4 separate regions of the Homo sapiens genome follow, and all the other regions are linked to region 2. Evidence: promoter capture Hi-C in 16 types of primary human blood cells and fetal thymus (Javierre and others, 2016). All regions are on one chromosome and are shown on one strand. Each heading gives the region's core, a stretch centred on a gene start or on the middle of the fragment in contact. The rest is flanking DNA. Distances are from core to core; before and after follow the strand shown. Region 1 has its middle 27 kb from the start of ARID5A. Region 2 holds the start of STARD7-AS1 (STARD7 antisense RNA 1). Region 3 overlaps LOC105373496 (a long non-coding RNA gene). Region 4 overlaps LMAN2L (lectin, mannose binding 2 like).

What was found. The method cuts DNA at HindIII sites, captures the fragments that hold promoters and counts their contacts. A CHiCAGO score of 5 or more calls a contact.
Region 1: a fragment that was not itself captured here is called in contact with the fragment with the promoter of STARD7-AS1 in region 2 in 3 of 17 cell types (naive CD8 T cells, naive CD4 T cells and total CD8 T cells); the score reaches 6.7 in naive CD8 T cells.
Region 3: a contact is called between a fragment that was not itself captured here and the fragment with the promoter of STARD7-AS1 in region 2, in 2 of 17 cell types (total CD8 T cells and activated CD4 T cells). The highest score is 6.1, in total CD8 T cells.
Region 4: a contact is called between a fragment that was not itself captured here and the fragment with the promoter of STARD7-AS1 in region 2, in 1 of 17 cell types (naive CD8 T cells). The highest score is 7.0, in naive CD8 T cells.

What each region holds. Positions count from the first base shown.
Region 1 is chr2:96,561,533-96,566,353 of GRCh38, reverse strand. No RefSeq gene overlaps it. Among named protein-coding and RNA genes, the nearest start is that of ARID5A, 27 kb to the right of the region's middle. RefSeq lists enhancers at 975-1,475, 1,546-2,046. The HindIII fragment of the contact is 4,621 bases long and covers 1-4,358 here.
Region 2 is chr2:96,206,834-96,212,103 of GRCh38, reverse strand. It overlaps STARD7-AS1 (STARD7 antisense RNA 1), which reads right to left and starts at 3,688. Exons shown (of 4, transcript NR_046322.1): 1 at 3,125-3,688. STARD7 (StAR related lipid transfer domain containing 7) reads left to right here and starts at 3,277. Exons shown (of 8, transcript NM_020151.4): 1 at 3,277-3,959. The coding sequence starts at 3,670. RefSeq lists silencers at 3,031-3,250, 3,601-3,860 and an enhancer at 2,993-3,583. The HindIII fragment of the contact is 17,331 bases long and covers 1-5,270 here.
Region 3 is chr2:96,525,097-96,529,818 of GRCh38, reverse strand. LOC105373496 (a long non-coding RNA gene) reads left to right here. Exons shown (of 3, transcript NR_135564.1): 2 at 1-85; 3 at 1,636-1,879. Among named protein-coding and RNA genes, the nearest start is that of ARID5A, 9.3 kb to the left of the region's middle. RefSeq lists an enhancer at 1,020-1,169 and silencers at 2,030-2,129, 2,280-2,619. The HindIII fragment of the contact is 3,059 bases long and covers 1-2,842 here.
Region 4 is chr2:96,710,385-96,715,483 of GRCh38, reverse strand. It overlaps LMAN2L (lectin, mannose binding 2 like), which reads left to right. Exons shown (of 8, transcript NM_030805.4): 5 at 3,459-3,620; 6 at 3,714-3,828. Among named protein-coding and RNA genes, the nearest start is that of LMAN2L, 27 kb to the left of the region's middle. The HindIII fragment of the contact is 1,100 bases long and covers 3,081-4,180 here.

The DNA.
Region 1 (4,821 bases), core at 799-3,298, 360 kb before region 2:
ACAATGAAAATATTTTAAAAGTAAACATGGGAGGTAACATGATTGTAAAGAACCTTAGCTCTTTATAAAAGTGGTAAGACTTTCTCTTCTTACTTAAGGACATGGTAAAGTCAACATAAAGCATAGGAAAGTATTCTGATAAAACACATCTTTGGCCGGGCGCGGTGGCTCACACCTGTAATCCCAGCACTTTGGGAGGCCGAGGCGGGCAGATCACAAGGTCAAGAGATAGAGACCATCCTGGCCAACATGGTGAAACCCTGTCTCTACTGAAAATATTAAAAAATTAGCTGGGCATGGTGGTGCACACCTGTAGTCCCAGCTACTTGGGAGGCTGAGGCAGGAAAACTGCTTGAACCTGGGAGGTGGAAGTCGCATTGAGCCAAGATTGCATCACTGCACTCCTGCTTGGCGACATAGTGAGACTCCATCTCAATAAATAAATAAATAAATAAATAAATAAATAAAAGCATAAACAAAGAAAACTCACAGTTTTCAAACATTTCATATCAGTGAGTTTTTCTTTTCCCAGAGGGTACAAATTCTGAATTAATTTGAGTTCAAATAGACAAGCAGAGAAGAATAGAAAACTAGATGCTGTGCTGTCATTCACCCATCAGGACATGACCTCTGGGCCATTAAATCCATTTGGCTACTTCCTCCAGTGTCTCCTTTGCCAGTCTGTGTGCATGTCTGATTGGTTGGTATCTCAGTCACATGCCTGCTCAATGGCAGCAAGGGAGTTTGGGAATGCAGGTTTTTATAGCTTGTCCCTTGGGAAGATGGTACTCAAAATATAGGAAAGGACCAAAATGGGGGCGGTCCAGATGCCCTCAAGGATATTGGGTAGCCATCAGTGACAGACTTGCATCTGGTGTTTCTGATGACCTTCCCTCATTCTCCCTGCCTGTCAATGGAAGCCACTCTCCTAGGGAGGACAGATTTCAGCTCTCTCCCTCGTTCCTGCCCCTCCCTTTCCCTTTCTCTCATGCAAATTCTAATCCCACTCTATCTGATTTAGCATCCCATTGCTTTCTATACAAGCACAGGTTTGACAGGGCCCAACAACGGGGCAGAGAAGCCTGAAAGGGCTGCCTCGTACATGCCAGGCATTGTTTGCATGCAAATGACGGCTAGGTTTTCCCTAGGGAATACCAATCAGATCTGCTTCTTGGTCCTAGTTCTTGAGTGTAGCTGGATCCAAAGCCATCGTCCTGAAAATTCTGGAGTGACTTAAATTCTACACTATGTGGCAAGCCCTCCTCTCCTCATCACAAGTCAGAGGTTCCTGACTTATTGTCTGGAAAGAGTTCTTCCCTTACCTGTGAGCTGGAAGGTGTTCCTTGGCAAAAGTGGTGGAGGATCCAAGATGAAGGACTCGGCAGAAAATCACACACACACACACACACACCCCACCACCACCACCAACAACAAAATACATAAAAAGTGATGGAGGAGAGATTCTGGCCACTAAAGATCAATATCCTTATATTGGCCACAGGGGGGTGATTAGGCTGGCCTGTCAGGTGGCCTTGCTCAGTGCAAGGGCCAGTGAGTCCTCCCACTCATCACTGACTTGGCAGGGGACAAGGCCCAGCCTATCTCCATAGACGTGCCTCTGCTGCCTGGACCCATGGCTGGGGCTCTTGAATGTTCACCATCTGGGACACCTGGATATCTGGCTGATGGTGTTGGAGTGGCAAATGGCAGAAACGACATCTGGCTAGCTTATATCCAAAGAAGGATTTATGAGGAGGATTCTCGGAATTCTCTCCAACTCCAGAAAACATTTAGGATCCTCTGGGATATGCAGGGTCTCCCCGGAGCACAGCGATGACCCTGACTGAGCGCCATTAGTCCAGTTAGATGGTGCCCCTCCCTGGCAGGGGTCGGGTAGTACTGGACCACTCTGGAGATGGCCATGGGCTGGCTACTGCAGCCACAAAGATGTCAGTGATCAAAAGAAGCATTTGATCAGCTGGCCAAGGCTCAGGCATCTGTGTTTGAAGGGGAAGGCGTCAAGGAGTCTGCAACAAGGTTGATGCAAATTCACACAAAACCAGGCACAAAACCTATTGTTGGTCCAGGCTTCCAGACTTGAATGCTACAGCTGGCGGTCACGGCCCAGCCTCGCCCTCCAGGGAACCAGGCAGGAGACATGTCCTAGTGTCATGGGCCTGGGGCCATGTTTCCATGGTGGGCACTGTGGCACTGAGACTGGACCCTGCTTCAGAGGGACAGGGACATCATTCCACCAACCCACTTCTCAAAGTTCTCAATTTGCATAGAAGGCTACTCTCAGGACCTCCCTTCTTCCCAAAAAGGGCAAAGGATGGCCCTGTGTTGTCCCACTGACAAGTGCTGAGAAGCAGCCAGCTTTTCTTTCTGTTTCTCACGACAGTTTGTGTTAGTCTATCCCTGGCATTCTGTGCACAGAGACCAGTGCTTAAAAGGAAAGGAAGGGGATGAAACAAGGGGTTTGGAAAGGAAGAAATATTTACATAGGAGTGATGGTCAAATATGTAATAACTACAATAATCTAAATATAAAATATATATTTTTTATTCTCTAAATAATATAAACACAGTTGACCCTTGAACAACATGGGTTTGAAGCGCTTGGGTCCGCTTATATTTTGATTTTTTTCAAAAGATGTAGTCGGCTCTTGGTATTTACTGATTCCCTATCTGCAAACAAATACAGGTGGAAGATGCAGTATTCTCAAGATGCAAAAACTCGCCTCGTCAGAGGGCAGAATTTTTATATAGGAGGGATCTGCAGGGCAAACTTCTGGACTTGGCCATGCACGGATTTTGGTATGGGGGGAGAGTCCTGGAACCAATTCCCCATGTATACTGAGGGACAACTATTTCTTATAAAACTGCTTGCCAAGTGATGTAAGTTGTAAAACAAACCATTCATCAGATCCCTCTGATCATTTCCAAATCACTCATTGGTTTTCATAAGCTGTTGGTGTGGTCTTTGTTTGACATGGGTGTCCCTAAGTTAGTACGTCCATTTCTGAGCCCACGATGGCATGGGGAGCTGTCCCAGACTTCCATTAAGCTGCTCCTTTTGTGATCTGGTATCAGAAGTCACACACCATCACTTCTGCCTTATTTTATCAGTTCATTAGTTAGATGAGTCACTAATTCCAGCCCACACTCAAGAGGAAGGGAATTAGGCTCCACTTTCTGAAAGGAGTACAAGATTTTGTGGGCATATTTTCCGCTACCACAGTCTGCCTGCTGGCCACAGATTATTTACACCCCTCACTGTATTAGTCTTCTATTTCTGCTCTAATAAATTACCACAAGCCTAGTGACCTAAAACAACACGAATTTATTATATTGCAGTTCTGGAGGTCCGAAGTCCAGTATGGGTCTCACAGCGCTAGAATCAGGTGTCAGTAGGACTGTGTTCCTGCTGGAGGGTCTAGGGGAGAATCTGTCTGCTTGACTTACAGCTTCTAAGAGGCACCCACATTCCTTGGCTTGTGGCTCCTTCTTCTGTCTTCAAAGCCAGCAATGCTGGGCCAAGTCCTTCCTCTGCTGCCTTTTGAGTCTCTTTCTCCCACCTTGTTCTTCCACTCTTAAGGACGCTCATGTGACATTGGGCCCACCCAGTATTTTCTTGACAATCCAGGATAGTCTATTCATATCCAGCAACCATAATTTCATCTGCAACCGGAATTCCCCTTTGCCATGCCCCCTAATATAGTCATAGGTCCTGGGGATTAGGATGTGGACATCTTTAGGAGGCTGTTATTCTGCCTACAGTCCCATATACAGAATATACTCACCCTGTTTAAAGATTCCCCAGAAGCCTTACCCTTTCCAGCATTGGCTTAAAATCCAGGATGTCATCATTTACCTGAAGATGTCACCAGATGTGGATGAGGCTTCTTGGGCATAATTTCTCAAGTATAGTAGTTCTATATCCAAAGACTTGTGAACTAAAAGGAATTTTTATCTATCCCTGACATGTTCAACCACAGTGGTGGGACCGGCATAGGATAACTGCAGTGGACATTCCTATTCAAAAAGGGGAACGCGGGAGGCACCTAAGAGCCACTGGTCCCTGGCAGCTTTGAAATTCAGTGGGGTGAGTGTTGGAGGCTCCTTGATGAGGATGCACCCGTGCACCCGTTGGGGAGTGATTCTCCATGGGATAAAGCTCCCCGGAATGTGGAAGTCCCTCCCAGCAGATATCCCTTAGATCTTGCATTAGTCAGCTCGGGCTGCCAAACAGAACACCGTAGACTGGGTGGCTGAAACAGCAGTCACTTATTTTCTCATAGTTTTAGAAGTCGGAAGTGTAAGTTCAAGATGCTGGCAGGGTTGGTTTTGGAGGAAGCTTGTCTTCTAGGCTTGCAGACAGATGCCTTCTTGCTTCGTCCTCTCTGCTCATGTGCAAGAGAGTGAGTTCTGGTGTCTTCTCTTCTTATAAGGACACCAGTCCTATCAGATTTGGCCCCATTTAACCTTATTTATGACCTCATTTAACCTTAATTGCCTTGTTAAAGGCCCTAAGTCCACATGCAGCCATATTAGGGGTTAGGGCTTCAGCATCTGACTGTGAGGAACACAGTTTGGTCCATAACATCTCACTGGCTGGAGCTGGGCCATGTGGCTCCTAGCTGCCAAGGTGGTGGGGGATGTGGGGGACAGAATTGTTAATGATTGGCCAAACCGTGTGAGGCCTCCACCACTCATGTCCTGTTACCTGGGGTCGTGCTCTGAACCAAGCTGGGATTCTGTTAGCAAGGACAAAGTGGGAAATGGATGTGAGATGGACAGTTAGCAGGGTCTGCCACACTGT
Region 2 (5,270 bases), core at 2,439-4,938:
TTGACTCCAAGGTGAGAGGAGTGGAACCACTTTGCAACTGTCTGAGTGTACTCCTGCAGGCCTGACTGGGGTTCGAAGGCTTGCATGGCAAAGGCATTAGTATTGCCACCTATAGTTTTCGTACTGTGTTTAAGGGAACCGTGTACTATAAGGGAAATAATGAGTACTAGGGTAAGGAGTGCAGTTCCCAGTTTTAAAAGTAAAGATTTAAAAGCATTAGCCTGGGAACTTGTAGCCCACAAAGAATTTAGGATTTAGTTCAAACTGCAGAAAAAAACTTAAGAACAGTTAACAAAAGGTGTACCACAGTTTTTCTTCTGAAGCATAATTTTTCTCTCTCCAGTTCCCATTTTTACTAAAAACAAATCATGATAGAACTGATTTGTTTACAAAATAAACCGCAGTCTTATTGTACTTGGCCTGATGATTTGCATAAAGTGAAGCAAGAATAATTATTTTTCACATAGGCTTTGTTTTTTTTTTTGAGATGAAGTCTTGCTTCGTGGCCCAGGCTAGAGTGCGGTGGTGCGATCGTGGCTTACTGCAACCTCCGCCTCCCAGGCTCAGGCGATTCTCCTGCCTCAGTCTTCCAAGTATCTGGGATTACAGGTATCTGCCACCACGCCCAGCTAACTTTTTGTATTTTCAGTAGAGACAGGGTTTCACCATGTTGGCCAGGCTAGTCTCAAACTCCTAACATTGTGATCTGCCTGCCTTGGCCTCCCAAAGTGCTGGGATAACAGGTGTGAGCCACTGCGCCTGGCCTTCACATAGGCTTTTAAAATTGGCTTTGATGGAACTCTGTTCCATAAGAAATCTTAGATAAGACCTTTTTAAAGCCAAGCCCAGCCATGGGTTTGTACCCTCGAATACCTATGAGTTGGGTAAATTCCTCTCCTCTTGAGGTGTCAAGATAACTTAGGTCTCCTGAGCCTGTTAGAAAGTGACATTCTTTACTTACCACAGGTCAGGAACCTCGTACAGGGACTGTGTTGACATAGTATGAGGCCAGATTTCCCAAGGGGCTCTATAAGTCAATTTTTTGGCTTATTGGCTCTATAAGTCAACTTTGTTTTTTTTTTTTTTGAGACGGAGTCTCGCTCTGTCGCCCAGGGTGGAGTGTAGTGGCGCGATCTCGGCTCACTGCTGCAAGCTCCACCTCCCGGGTTCACGCCATTCTCCTGCCTCAGCCTCCCGAGTAGCTAGGATTACAGGTGCCCACTACCACGCCCGGCTAATTTTTTGTATTTTTAGTAGAGACGAGGTTTCACCGTGTTAGCCAGGATGGTCTGGATCTTCTGACCTCGTGATCCGCCCGCCTTGGCCTCCCAAAGTGCTGGGATTAAAAGTGTGAGCCACCATGCCCGGCCTAGAGCTCTTTTTTCTAAGAAAAAATCCTTTTAAGGCCAGGCACGGTGGGTCATTGAATCGTGAATTCAATGGGTGGTCTCTGAGCAGTCACCCTGAATCAGGCCTGTTAAACTTCTTTCAGGGCTCACTGAATGTGACTAGATAAATAAGGAGTGTTCTCCAAGTTAGGCCTGCTGGATTTTCATCAGCAATTCCTTCAGAGATCCCCTCCATATATACAAACACACACACGAAGACAAGACAGACAGAAGGCCTTCCAAATTAAGGTCCCTAACCAAGAACTCCAAGAGTACCCCTTCCAAACTATCCTCCTATTCTCCATCTGACAAATCTCCCTGAAATATTCCTGATTGAGAAGTCTCCCGAACCAAGACTCTTCCTAGTTAGGGACAGCCAACTGGGATGCCCCAGGAGCCAAACTGAGACAGACACCCCATGGTGGAGCTACAGACACCCACCATGTGGCTACAGAATCAGTCCGGAGAAGGAAGGAGGCACTGGCAGCACCTAGGATACTCAGCAACCTGCCACCCCATGATGGGGCTATAGCTACAGACACTCCATGACCTGGCTACAGCGCCCCGCTATGGAGCTACAGATACCCTGTGACAGGGCTACAGTTATGGGATGTCTCCCCAGGACTATTTCTCCATTGCGATTAAGTCCATGCATATTGGGCTAGCAGTGCCCCACTGGCAGAGACGGTGCCAGAGTTAGCCCCTAGTCCAAGAGAACTATGTGGCCGCTTAGGCTGGCCTCTGGATCTGTCACCAGAGGTGGGGCTACCGAACCATGGACAGGTAGCCACAAGGGGTATCCCAGACGAACCCCCAAATTTGTAACCGTACAATGGGTTCACCTTGCCCACTGCCTAGACAGAGCCGATTTATCAAGACAGGGGAACTGCAATAAAGAGTAATTCACGCAGAGCCCACTATGAGACTGGAGTTTGTTTCAACATTACTCAATCAGTCTCCCTTAGCATTCCGGGATCAGAGTGTTTAAGGATAATTTGGTGGGTGGGGGAAGGCCAGTGAGTCCAGAGTGTTGACTGGTTGGGTCGAGATGAAATAATAGGGAATTGAAGCTGTCCTCTTGCACTGAGTTGGTTCCTGGGTGGGGGCCACAAGGTCAGATGAGCCAGTTTATCCATCTGGGTGGTGCCAGGATCCAACCAGTGCGGGGTCAGCAAAATATCTCAAGCACTGATCTTAAGAGCAGTTTAGGGGGATCACAATATCGTAGCCTCCAGCTGCATGACTCCTAAACCATAATTTCCAATCTTATGGCTAACTTATTAGTCCTACAAAGGCAGTCTAGTTCCCAGATAAGAAGATTTGTTTTGGGAAAGGGCTGTTATCCTCTTTATTTTAAACTATAAACTAAGTTCCTCCCAAAATTAGTTCACCTAAGCTCAGGAATGAACAAGGACAGAAGCAAGATGGAATTGGTTAGGTCAGATCTCTTTCACTGTCTCAGTTTTAATTCTGCAATGGCGGTTATCACTGGGAGCCCCCAGCCCCCGCAGAGACATGCGGAGCCCCGCCCCCACCCTGCACTCTAATAAAGAAGGGGGCCAGCGTGCCGGCCTCTTAAAACAAGTTAACACCTGGCAGGATTCTAACAGGAACCTGGCCAGGTTTCTCCGCGGGGCGGGGCTGGGACGGCCGGAAGATGGCGGCGACGGCGGCAGCCGGGTCCGAGGGTCACTCTCCAATGCGCCCTTGACGGCTCTCGCCGCCGAGCCACCTACCTTGCTAGCAGGCGGCCTCCGCGCATGCATGAAGGGGCAGGAGGGGGCGGTGACGAGCACTTCACGGCGCCAATGAGCACCCAGGAGCCCAGGTCGCGCCCAATCACGGCCCAGGTGGCGGAGAAAAAGTAGGGTGCGCGCGCGCCGCGCGTGTGGCAGTCGCGGAAGGCGCGGGAGCTTGCGTGCTGCTGGGCCTGAGCTGTCTGTCTCGTTTCTGTCCGCGCGCCCTGCATCCCGGCCCCGGGCGCCCGCTGGAGGTCGCCGAGGAGCCACAGGGCTGACTGGTCTGCTGCCCGGGCCCAGGAGTGCCTGGTGTAGCAGTCGCGGAGCCATCCCGGCGTCTGCTGCCATGACCGACTCTCCCCTCAGAGGAGACTCTTCCTCAGCGGTGGCTGCAGAGACAGATGAGCGGCGGCTCCTGGCCGCGGGACCGTGAGACGGGTTCGTGGCCGGCCATTTAGGGGGACGCTGCGACCACCGCCTGCGCCCCTCCGGACTGGTTCCTTGGGCCCCGGAAGCTCGCGGCGGGCCCTGCGGGAGGCGGCATGCTCCCGCGGAGGCTGCTGGCCGCCTGGCTGGCGGGGACGCGGGGCGGGGGCCTGCTGGCGCTTCTGGCCAATCAGTGCCGCTTCGTCACGGGCCTGCGCGTGCGGCGCGCGCAGCAGATCGCGCAGCTCTACGGCCGCCTCTACTCCGAGAGCTCACGCCGCGTTCTCCTCGGCCGCCTCTGGCGCCGGCTGCACGGCCGTCCTGGCCATGCCTCTGCCTTGATGGCGGCGTTAGCCGGCGTCTTCGTTTGGGACGAGGAGAGGATCCAGGAGGAGGAGTTGCAGAGGTGGGCGCTGCGGCGAGCTCTTTCTGGGCCGTGGGGTGGGGGGGCTTGTGAACCCTGGGGCCTGCCCTGTGGTCGTTGGCCCTTGTTTACCCGGTGGTCTTTTAATTGGCAATACAGTCGATTGAACCTGCTTCAGCAAACCGCGTTGTTATTTGTCTCTGTGTGTCAATTTGCATTTGTCGGGTTATAAAATAGAACTGAAAGTGTGTAGGCTGGTGTGTAGGAGGGAGACTTTGAGTGGGGCGAGCAAGACAGTAAAGAAACAACACTGTAGAAATCAATTAGATAGCGAAGGCATGGAGGCCCTTGTTCATGTAATCTGTAATCTTTAACACAACCAGAAAGGTGCAAATTCAAAACAAATTTTAAATTTGGCCTAAGGGTGGTGGGCTGCTATTTGCAAAATGACTTCAATCCAGATGGGACTCAGGCCTGTGAGAAAAGCCAGGAGAGCCCTCTGTCATCGTGACTCGTGGCAAAATTGAGAGCCTGGAAGCGATTTTGTCCAGGTTACACAAACCAGCAGCCCAGACATTTGAACCTGTAAGAATTAGGTCAGATTTTTGCGACGTTAACTAGAACTTTGGGAATAGTGTCCCATTAGACTCTGAAGTCATGCTGTCGTCATCAAAACTGTGAAAAGCCCAGTACCATTGATTACGTTTGTTAATCTGTAGTTCTGAGACTGTAGTTTCCAGGTAATGTCATGGGGAAACTTTGCTTTGGTTTTTGGTTTACCTTGTGTCTGTATTTTCTTTGCAACAGATATTCTTAAACTGTGCCCTCCCTGCACAGAAAGTACTTTGCCGTGATTTCGGGAACCAGAGACAATCCCCTCCCTCCGCAGATTCCACACTCGCCTGTTTATTCTTGATATTTCCTCCACAGGGAAACAACCTGTTATTCCACATTTTTTGTTAGGTTAAAAATGGAAATACCCCAATAAAGTTTATACCATGGCCTGTGTGGGAGGTGTAACACCCAGATGCCAGGCAGCTATTTGTGCCACACTATGAATTGTGGGTAAATGCAAGTCTATCTTAAGAACTGGGAATACTTTTCCTAGCAGGAAAGATAACTTTTATAAATGCAACTTAAAATAATAACCACAAACAACCTTATTCACAAAAAAGTTAAGCTATCAAAGCGTGATAGGTATTTTGCCTAGTTCCTATTAGTATTCTTTTGCTACTTGGCCATTGGTTATAATCACAGTCTCTTGGGTGTGGGAAATAAAAGAATAGGAAGAAAACTTCTAAGTTGACAAATTATCATTAACTTTTAATTTTCATTTTTGATGATGAAATGTCC
Region 3 (4,722 bases), core at 64-2,563, 320 kb before region 2:
CACGGCTGAAGACAGAGGGCTGCGTGGAGGCTGAAGGCAGAGGGCTGGGCCTTGGGCCTGGGTAAAGACAGCTCTGGACATGGAGGTAGGTTGGCATCCCCCCTCTCTGGCACATACGGCAATATAGCCACACTGGGAGGGCTTTGCCCCAGTGCCTGGTGCTGTTTCTGGAGCTGTGTGTGTGCATGGGCTATACCCTCTGGCCTGGAGGAACCTTCCCGGGCTTGGCAGTTCCCACTGTATTTACCTAGTGAGCTTCTGCTCATCCTTCAAGGGCCCACCTGAGGCAGATACCCAGGGGTCTCAACACACACCTCCAGCAGGGCATGTGCCACATCGTGCTCCTGTGGTCAGCCCCATGCCATTGTGTGACTGGCCAGCAGCTCCCGAGCCTCTCGTCTCCAGCTAGGAGTGGTCTTTACTATCTGCCCACACTACGCTGCTGAAAGGGCCGCAGAACCCCGGCCACTGCTCCTCCAGAAGAGGAAACTGAGGGTCTAAGTGGGAAGGGACTTATCCAAGGTCTCACAGTCGCTTCAAAAGATCTCACAGTTGGTAAAGGAATTGGGAAGGAAGAGGAGGAAGTGAGAGGCCACTGAGGGCAGGTGCACAGTAGGTGCTCAATGAAGATCCACAGAAGGAGAATGAAGGGCACGGAGGAGAGGGAGGAGGAAGAGGCCATGCACCCACCTCCACCCCTATCCCACATCTCCCTCCATCACCAGGCAACATCTGCCCTTTCTTCCCCAGGGGTTAGCGCTTCCTAGTTGTCAAGGGCAGCACATTCTAGATGCTGGGGACTTGACCTCACATGCGGCCCTTCTTGCTGGAGTTTCGCTGGAGTCACACCCTCCCTATGGCTGCAGGCTGGCTGCTCAGGCCACAGCCCCTTTCCTGGTTATCTGTGTTGCTGCTGAATCCTGGCCAGGGGTAGTGAACACAGCCCAGGTCTTGGACTCCAGGACAGCGCCCCCTCAGCTCCCCAAGGAGCTCAGAGGTCCCAAGCCCCTGGCCAGCTTGTCTCAGCTGGAGGGAGGTTCTGGGCATCCTGTAGCTGGACTCTGGGGACTCTGAGGCCTGCCTTGGCTGAGAATCTGTCTTGGCACAGATTCTGTGCCAAAGCGATGGGCAAATTTTTCTCCACAGGAAACCCAAGTACCCCAGTGCAGTTGAACTCTCCGTGCTGTCTCCTATCTATGAAACCGGCTGGCAGGCACAATAACAGCCCTCACGCCTCCGGGTGCAGTTACGGGCATTGGATGAGCTATTTCTTATAAAGGGCTTAGAACTGTGCCCGCTGGCGGGAGGAAGTGCTCCATAAACATTAGCTGGTTTCCACAGCCCTGGGTGAAACAGAAGGCACGGGGTGGGCCCAGGCTGGGGGAGTGGGGACAGGAAACCTGACTTCCAGCTCCAGCCCCAGCTCAGCAGATAGGCCATTTGGTTCTGCAAGGCCCCCACCCCCTTGCCTTCCCTCCTTCTGTACGTGTGTGTCATATTTTGTTGGCTTTGGGGCTTTCTTTTCTTTCTTTCTTTTCTTTTTTTTTTTAAATAAACAAGGGCTGCATGAAACCCCTAATATTCTGGGTAAGTGTTGAAACAGCTCAGAAATCCCCTCCTCCCCTTGTGACTCAGTGGCAGGAGCGATAAGCAGAACTACTGGTGACACTGTGGGAGAGAAATTCTGCAAAATAACAGCTGGGCAGCCCGGGACCCCAGGGAGTTGAAATGGGACCTCGGAGACATCAGGATGTCCTGGAGAGGCACCAAGGCCAGAGGTCCCCCAGGGACCGTGGAGGGGGCATTAAGCCCTGAAAACAGATCATGATGCCCATCCCCCCAGCACAATTAGAAATAAAAACAACCCGGGACAGTTAAATTAGTGTAAGGAAGTCCCTCAAGAGTTTTACTTTTCCCGTAACGGCGATTTTCGATGCTCCTTCGGAAACATCAGATTCTTTCCAAGCGTTATTCTTTTTCTATTTTGGTGCCCGAAGTACTAGCGTGGTGGACCAAGCCCCTACACCAGCCGTGAGCGACCCCTGCGGGCTGCCTGGCCCCTGTGGGCACTGGCTCCGGGGATGCGGCAGGGGGCGGAGGGGGCGACACCGGGCTTGGGGGGCGGGCAGCGGAGGGAGGACTGGGGGTGGGGAGGGGGGAGGGCGGGGAGGGCGCCCAGCGGCGCGGCCGCGCCCCCCACCCCACCCCATTCCACCCCCACCGAGGACCGCGCTGGGGTTTCAGAAAGCGCTTTTCTGGCCCTGCCGCCGGATCTGACTCAAAAAGGGGAGCTGGCTCAAACCGAAAGAATAATTCGGTTAGCCAAAGCGCCGATATTTCCCTGGGGCCCAAATGGCTGCCAGGCAGGGGGCTCCAGGGCCGCAGCCTCGCCGGCCCCTCGGGCCCCGCCGAAAGCCCCGGGCCCCATCCATCTTCGCCACCGAAAGGGGCAGGAAGAGCAGCTGAGAGGAGGGCGCCTCCTCCAGCCCCGCAGGCTCTGCTGCCGGACCGTCGTGTCCCTCCCGAGGCCTTCCCCTGCCTGTCCCAGCGGGCCCTGCTCTCTCGGGTTCTCAGGACGTTGGGCAGACCCCTTAGGCCTCTTTTCTAGCAGCACGCACATTCCTGCACACCTCCGCATGTGAAGTTTTTCTGGAAGTATCATGTGGACACTTTTGGAGGCCTACACCCACTCTTAGAGGTGTCTGGCGTCCCATTGCAGGGGCGTTCCGTCTTTTGAAGTTGAAGAATTGTCTTGGACCATACGTAAAATACACTAACACTACCGACAGCCGGTGAGCTAAAAGAAAAAATCGCGAAAATACCTCAGTGTTCTAAGAAAGCTTTATGAATTTGGGCCGCATTCAAAACCTTCCTCAGTCACATGCCGCCCTTGGGCCACGCGTTGGACAAGCTTGCATCCTAGAGACCAATGCGAAATTAACTCGAAAAGAAAGAACCGCTCGGGCCGATTCAACACCCCTGTCACCTATCCTCACCCACGATTTCACTCCCAGGCCCCTTGGCCTGGCGGCGCTTGCCCTTTGGCCAGCGTCCTAGAGGTCACAGTGAGGCCCAAATGAACGGGGTTTTACCGAACCGACATGCCCAGGAGAGAAACATGGATCTATACAGAGAGGCTAATCATTTGTTTCAAGCTGAATTGCCAGGGTGGAGTGGGTGGGGTGGGCCCAGGGGCTCCCCTCCGCTCCCCCCGCAACCCCTGTGTCCAGTCTGAGGTGCCTGTATGCATTCTCTTCAGGTCCCCACCTTCAGTCTGAAGCAGGGAGCCGGGCTTTGCAGGTGCAGAAGCTCTCTGGCTCTGGGAGCCTGCTGGACTCAAGTTCATTCTGACCTCAGGACAGGTGTGGGCAGGAGATGCTGACGGCTGGTTTTCCTGGGCCGCCCAGAACACCTGGCCTCTCAGCTGTCTCAGCACAAAATTCGCCCTGTAAGCAGGACCCTCCTGAGCTCCCAGAAGGGCCAGGCACATAGCTGCTGTCACCGGTAACAGTCCTGCAGACAGCGAGACGGCTGTGACACAGTGCTGCACACAAAGCCTGGCTGCTGCCCGCCATATGCAAGGACAGGCACCAAACACAGCCTAGGTCAGGGACCTGCGGGGTCAGCTGAGCGTGTGAGGAGGACTCAGGTGCCTGCAATCCCTGCCTCCCTGCCACAGCGTGATGCTACAGGGTGGCCCGGCAGGACTGGGTCATTACAGCTCCTGACCTACCAGAGGACCTAGTGTCACCCCCCACTCAGTTGTCACATTGCTGGGGAGTCTGAAGAGGGGGAAGGCACCAGGGTGGTCCCAGCCATGCTGGGACTTGGAGCAGTCCCTAGTACTGACACTGAAGTATGTCAATATCACAATAAGTGGCTTAGAGGGGGTGGCATTGACTGTTAATCCCAAGGGATGAAGGGAATACCTCGCTCCTGGAAGAAAGCTGGGAGCATCTCTCTGTTTTTTTTTTTTTTTTTTTTTTGAGACAGGGTCAGTCTGAAGTGCAGTGGTGCAATCTCAGCTCACTGCAGCCTTGGACTCCTAGGCTTAGGTGATTCTCGCACTTCAGCCTCCCAGGCAGCCACGACCATAGGCATGCACCACCATGCCTGTCTAATCTTTTAAAAAATTTTATGGAGGTGGGATCTTGCTATGTTGCCCAGACTGGTCTTGAACTCCTGGGCTCAAGTGATCCACCCACTTTGGCCTCCCAAAGTGCTGGGATTATAGGCGTGAGCCACTGCACCAGGCTACATCTCCATTTTAAGATGCTGAGTGGGCACTTGGAGGAAGGACAAGAAGCAGAGTGGGTCCTGCTATATTGTGTACATTCTGGAAGTCCTCACTGCCCTGGTACCCAGACTTAGGTCTGTCACTCAGGAGTGGCAAGGGCTGCCCTAGGTCTGGCCCAGAAGTCCTCTGAGCTCCTGCTTAGAGTGCCATAGTGCCATGCCAGTGGTATGGAGGGGCTTGAGCACACTCGGGCTTATGCACACATGTGTCCCGTGGACTGTCTGGGTGCGTCTCCATGTGGGAGAGCATTCTGCCTTCTTGCATGGCAGCAAAGCTTTCGTAGGAACTCTAACCCTGTTGAAGGGAAGTAGGGAAATGAGGAGTGTCTGAGACACCAGGCTGCCTGCTCAGTCTTTCAGAGGTAGGAGAGAAGCCTGCAGAGGTCTCAGGGCTCACTTCCGCTTCCCATGAAGGCTCCCACCTGG
Region 4 (5,099 bases), core at 2,381-4,880, 500 kb before region 2:
CTCCTGTGTGAAATTAGTGGTTATCCAAGAAATACTTCCAGGAACTCTTGACTAGGCGTAGAAAATAAGATGGCATTTAGTGACTTACACTAATGTGAGGTTAAAAGTTGAAGGCCAACTCGTGTTGCCGAAGTAGACAGATTCTCTGTAGTTGCAAAGCTGTGAGGCTCCCTGTCTGGTGCAGCGTTTCTTCAATTTGGCTGCACATCACAGCCTTCTGTGGTGCTTTTTAAAAATACATAATCCTGGCTGGGTGCGGTGGCTCACGCCTGTAATCCCAGCACTTTGGGAGGCCAAGACGGGCAGATCACGAGATCAGGAGTTCGAGACCAGCCTGACCAACATGGTGAAACCCCATCTCTACTAAAAATACAAAAATTAGCTGGGCATGGTGGCGAGCGCCTGTAATCCCACCTACTCATAAGGCTGAGGCAGGAGAATTGCTTGAACCCAGGAGGTGGAGGTTGCAGTGAGCCAAGATTTCGCCACTGCACTCCAGCCTGGGTGACAGAGTGAGACTCCATCTCAAAAAAACAAACAAAAAACAATCCTGCACCCCACTCTAGCCATACGAATGAGACTCTTTGACTGAGGGACCCATGTATACGTGCAGTTAACAAGCTCCTTCAGGTGCTCCCAAGGTCCAGCATGCCTCTGGCTGTTACCTGGAACTGGGTCCACACCAGCCTTGGGAAGAGTAAGGCACCCTTAGGCTAAGGATTGCTGTCTCTTTATTATTTGTTTATTTTCTAAGCAAGCTAACATAGGAGATTGCTATCTCTTTAAAGTTGCAACTTAAACTTCTAATCAGGGTTACTAGAGGTGATGAGTGAAGGAAGCCTTGGGCTCATCAGAGCTCCACAGGGCATTTTTAATCCCTTTTTCTTAATTGTCACTGAAATTATGAGCATACTCTCAGATGCCAGTTTCTGTAAACTGCTTGATAACATGCTCACCATTTCCTTGTTCTAAATGGTAGTTGTTGAAGATTAACTTCATGCCAGTTTAATCATCCACGGATTGATGTCATGCCTTTCTGTGTCCTGTATGAATTCTGCCAGTGGTGTTAAGAGGAGGACGGCAGGGGATCTGCACTGCAGCCTCGGACTCCTGGCTGTGGCCCATGGAGCCCAGTGCCGTGGGTGCTGCCTTGCCTCATGGCAGCCTCTTCTCACAAGCTGTGATTCTGACTGATCTGTTTCCAGTTCCTTGAATGTGCCACCCTCATGCTTCTTGTGCCCTCAGATCTTTTGGTGGACTCCCTCTAATTACTTGAGTCTCAGCTCAGATATTGCCTCCTCAGGGAGAGGTTCCCTTGCCCATCCCTTGTATTACCTATTTTATTTTCCTTATAGCATTTTTCACTATCTGAAATAATTTTATTTGCTTCTTTGTTGTTTGTTTCTTCCACTCTGATCTTAATTCCATTCCTGTCTGTCTTGTTTCTCTTTGGACCCTCAGCATCTGGAACAGTACCTGGCTTGTAGTAGGTGTTCACCGTATTAAAGGAGTGAAGGGTTTGAGTTCTGTACCCTCGCCTACCTGTCCCACAGGGCAGAGCTGAGCTGAGCTTGTGTAGGTACCTCTTGTCGCTAATGGCTTAGAACTGCAGCTGTTTGCTGGAGCAGAGCTTAATACCCTCACGCCTGATGATTTTCTAAATCTGTCATTCTGCAATGCCTCCATGGAGCTTCTTCCTTGCCTATGTGTGGTAGGTTAGAATGACAATAGTTATTTGGGAATATATGACCATAAGGCTCAGTTAGAGGGTAAGTGATCCCTTTGGATTAGAGTTAGTTTCATAGTCTCTCAAGTGGCAAGATTTTGGTCTTCTGGGCAGGAGCTGTTTCCTGAGATCCTGGATAGTAAAGGATGTCTTGAATTTGGAAGAATTTAGCCCTGTTGTCTCCTCTTTCCCCTTGCTATAGAAATACAGTAGGCTGGGTACAGACAAACTTGAGACTGACTCCCAGAGACATAAGTGCGGCGTGCCTGGACAGCGTACTGCTATGTGTTTTATAAAGTGCCTTCCAAAAGCTTCAGGACCCTCTATGGGTTAGAGCGGTCTTCCTAGGGGACCCCTTTGAGAATCTGATATAGTAACAGACCCTCTCCTCAGAAAAATGTACAAGCACCCGTGCATATGGTTTTGCCTATCATCTTGAGGGTGCAAAGACTTCACGGATGCCCTTCAGGGACCCTAAAATTCTGTTTGGGGATTTAAGTTGGTTTGTTCATCCATCACAGCTGGGTCATAGCTCTTCTGTGGCTGTGTCTTTCTGACTTGGTCTCCTGTCTTCTGTGCCCTCTCTTGTTTTTATCATAACCTGCTGGACCCTCTCAGGCCCAGAAGAGGCGATATTCTCCAGGAGTCCAGGTACTCAGTTCTTGGCTCATCATGAGCATCCCTCATTCCCATGTGTCCATCCAACATTTGTTGCTGTTTCAAGTCCATGTGGTTGTCTCAGGAGTCCCCGGTCTCTGGTCTCGACTGCATCTCCATCTTGCATGTTAACCATTTGGGACAAAGGGACAAATACTCCCCAAAGGAGTGGCATGCCTCATGTTACCCCTTCACCACCTCACTACCCTGCCTTTTTGCACTGCCTTGGCATTGGGCTTGTTCTGGAATGATTAGTTCGCCATTTCTAAGGAAGAATTGCTCCTACAACTCTACTGGGGAGAGAGGGCCCCTGAAATAGATGGGAAAATGAGTGGCTTATGGGAAAACTTGCAATTTTCTCCCTGTTAAGGGAGAACCTTGCCCTCTTATTATTATTCGGAGAAGTTACGTGTGGAGGAGGCTTAAGTGGGCTGGAAAGTCTTTTGACTAAGGACAGTCATTGTGGCTGGCTGAGCCCATCCAGCAACCCCGTTCCATGTTCTGAGTTCTAATCCATTTAGCCTTATATGCTTATAGAATTTTAGAATTGAAAAGAGCTATCCTGAATGGAAAGATTCCCCTGCTCAAACAGGTATTTTCAGAATACCCGCTGTGTGCAGAACCATGGTTGGGAGGAGATGGGGCTGAAGTTTAGACATATGAAGACGTGATGAATGAATTTTTTCTTCAAGAAGCTTATGTGGCAGTTGGGGAGATAGGTACATATACACGAAAAGGAAACCCCTGGTATTAGGCGGCACATAAGTGCCAAATGGTGACCTTGGGGCATTCAAGTCAGACTCCAGCGTCTTAGGAGGACCACTTCAGGCCCACCCCAGTTCAGGAGCCAAGAGAATTACTGAAGGCAAATACCAAGTGTAGTCGCTTCCTGGGCCCATTTCCCTTGAGAGACCATCTGAATGTGGGCTCTCAGGGGCTGCTGACAATGAGGTCGAGTGGCTGCCTATTCTGCTGTAAGGGGCTCAACTTGTATGTGCTGAATTCCTGTTGCTGTTTGTACAGGCGTTCCTATGTGCTCTTCCTTAGTGTCTGCTTCCCCCTCTCTGCTTTCCAGCGGGTATTCCCCTACATCTCAGCCATGGTGAACAACGGCTCCCTCAGCTATGATCATGAGCGGGATGGGCGGCCTACAGAGCTGGGAGGCTGCACAGCCATTGTCCGCAATCTTCATTACGACACCTTCCTGGTGATTCGCTACGTCAAGAGGCATTTGACGGTGAGAGTCCTTGTCCTGGACCAGATGGTGGTGTGGGCTGTGTCGCTCTTGCTCCCATGGCCTGACCCTGATTTATCTCTCTTTTTATTCTAGATAATGATGGATATTGATGGCAAGCATGAGTGGAGGGACTGCATTGAAGTGCCCGGAGTCCGCCTGCCCCGCGGCTACTACTTCGGCACCTCCTCCATCACTGGGGATCTCTCAGGTACTGCCACGCGCACTCTTGGTTTGCCCTGACTGAGGCCTCTTCTCAATACCCACACTTCATTGAGGCCTCTCACAGGGGAGAGCCAGAGGAGCGGTGCTCTGGAAGGAGGTGCCTCAAGACTGCTTCTCCTTCTGCATTCTTATATCCACATTCCTTAAAAACCCACGCCAGGCTTTCCTAGTACAGTTGTCACTAGAAGATGGTTGGTGCTAATAGAAAGCAGTGTTTGTCCCTTCATTAAGCTGGCTCTTCTAGCCTGTATCGTGAGTTCCTTGCTTTCTGATTTCTGCTGTCAGGCTCCTCTCCTTCCAACCACTAATGTTCCCCGTTCCCCTTCCTTAACAAAGCTTTTCCTTGACTTTGCCGTCCCTCTTCTGACCCCAGACTCTCCTTTTGCTGAGACTTTTGAATGTGTTGTGTGTACAGATCCTTTTGTTTCCTAGCTGTCCACCTCCTTAACATGCTGACTCAGACCTGTGCTCTATCTTGCTAGTACACTAACACCATTCTCATGAAAGGTCATTCTGTTTCCTTGCCATATTCAGTACTCTATTCTCGTTCTCACCCTTTGTCCTCCTCAGCTCATTTAACCCATTACCCTGAAACTCTTGCCTTCTTGACTTATGTGACATTAACAGCACCTGGTTCTTTTACTTTTCCATCTCCTCTTGTTTCTTTTTCTACTTATGCCTGATTCGTAGCTTCTCGTTTATACACTTACTCTCTTTGCTTGAACCCCAATCATAACATCTTTTGGGAAGAGAAAAGGAACTGAACTTCTGTTTCTTTTGATTAATATAATTTGTTCTGGATAAAGCTAGTTTGGAATAGAAGTTTCTTGTGGCAAAATAGAAAGGCAGATACCCATCTGAAAAAGCCGACAGCTAGTGAGCTCCAGCCATTGTAGCTAAAAGGAAATGTCAGCTCAGTGAGGCTAAATCTTCCAGTTTTTCAAGAGCAGTTGGAATTCTGGATTTTTTTTTATATATATATATGGAGTCTCGCTCTGTCGCCAGGCTGGGGTGCAGTGGCGCCATGTCAGCTCACTGCAACCTCCACCTCCTGTATTCAAGCGATTCTCCTGCCTCAGCCTCCCAAGTAGCTGGGACTACAGGCGCGCCACCACGCCCAGCTAATTTTTGTATTTTTAGTAGAAACGGGGTTTCACCATGTTGGCCAGGATGGTCTCCATCTCGACCTTGTGATCCGCCCGCCTTGGCCTCCGAAAGTGCTGGGATTACAGGCATGAGCCACTGAGCCCAGCCTGG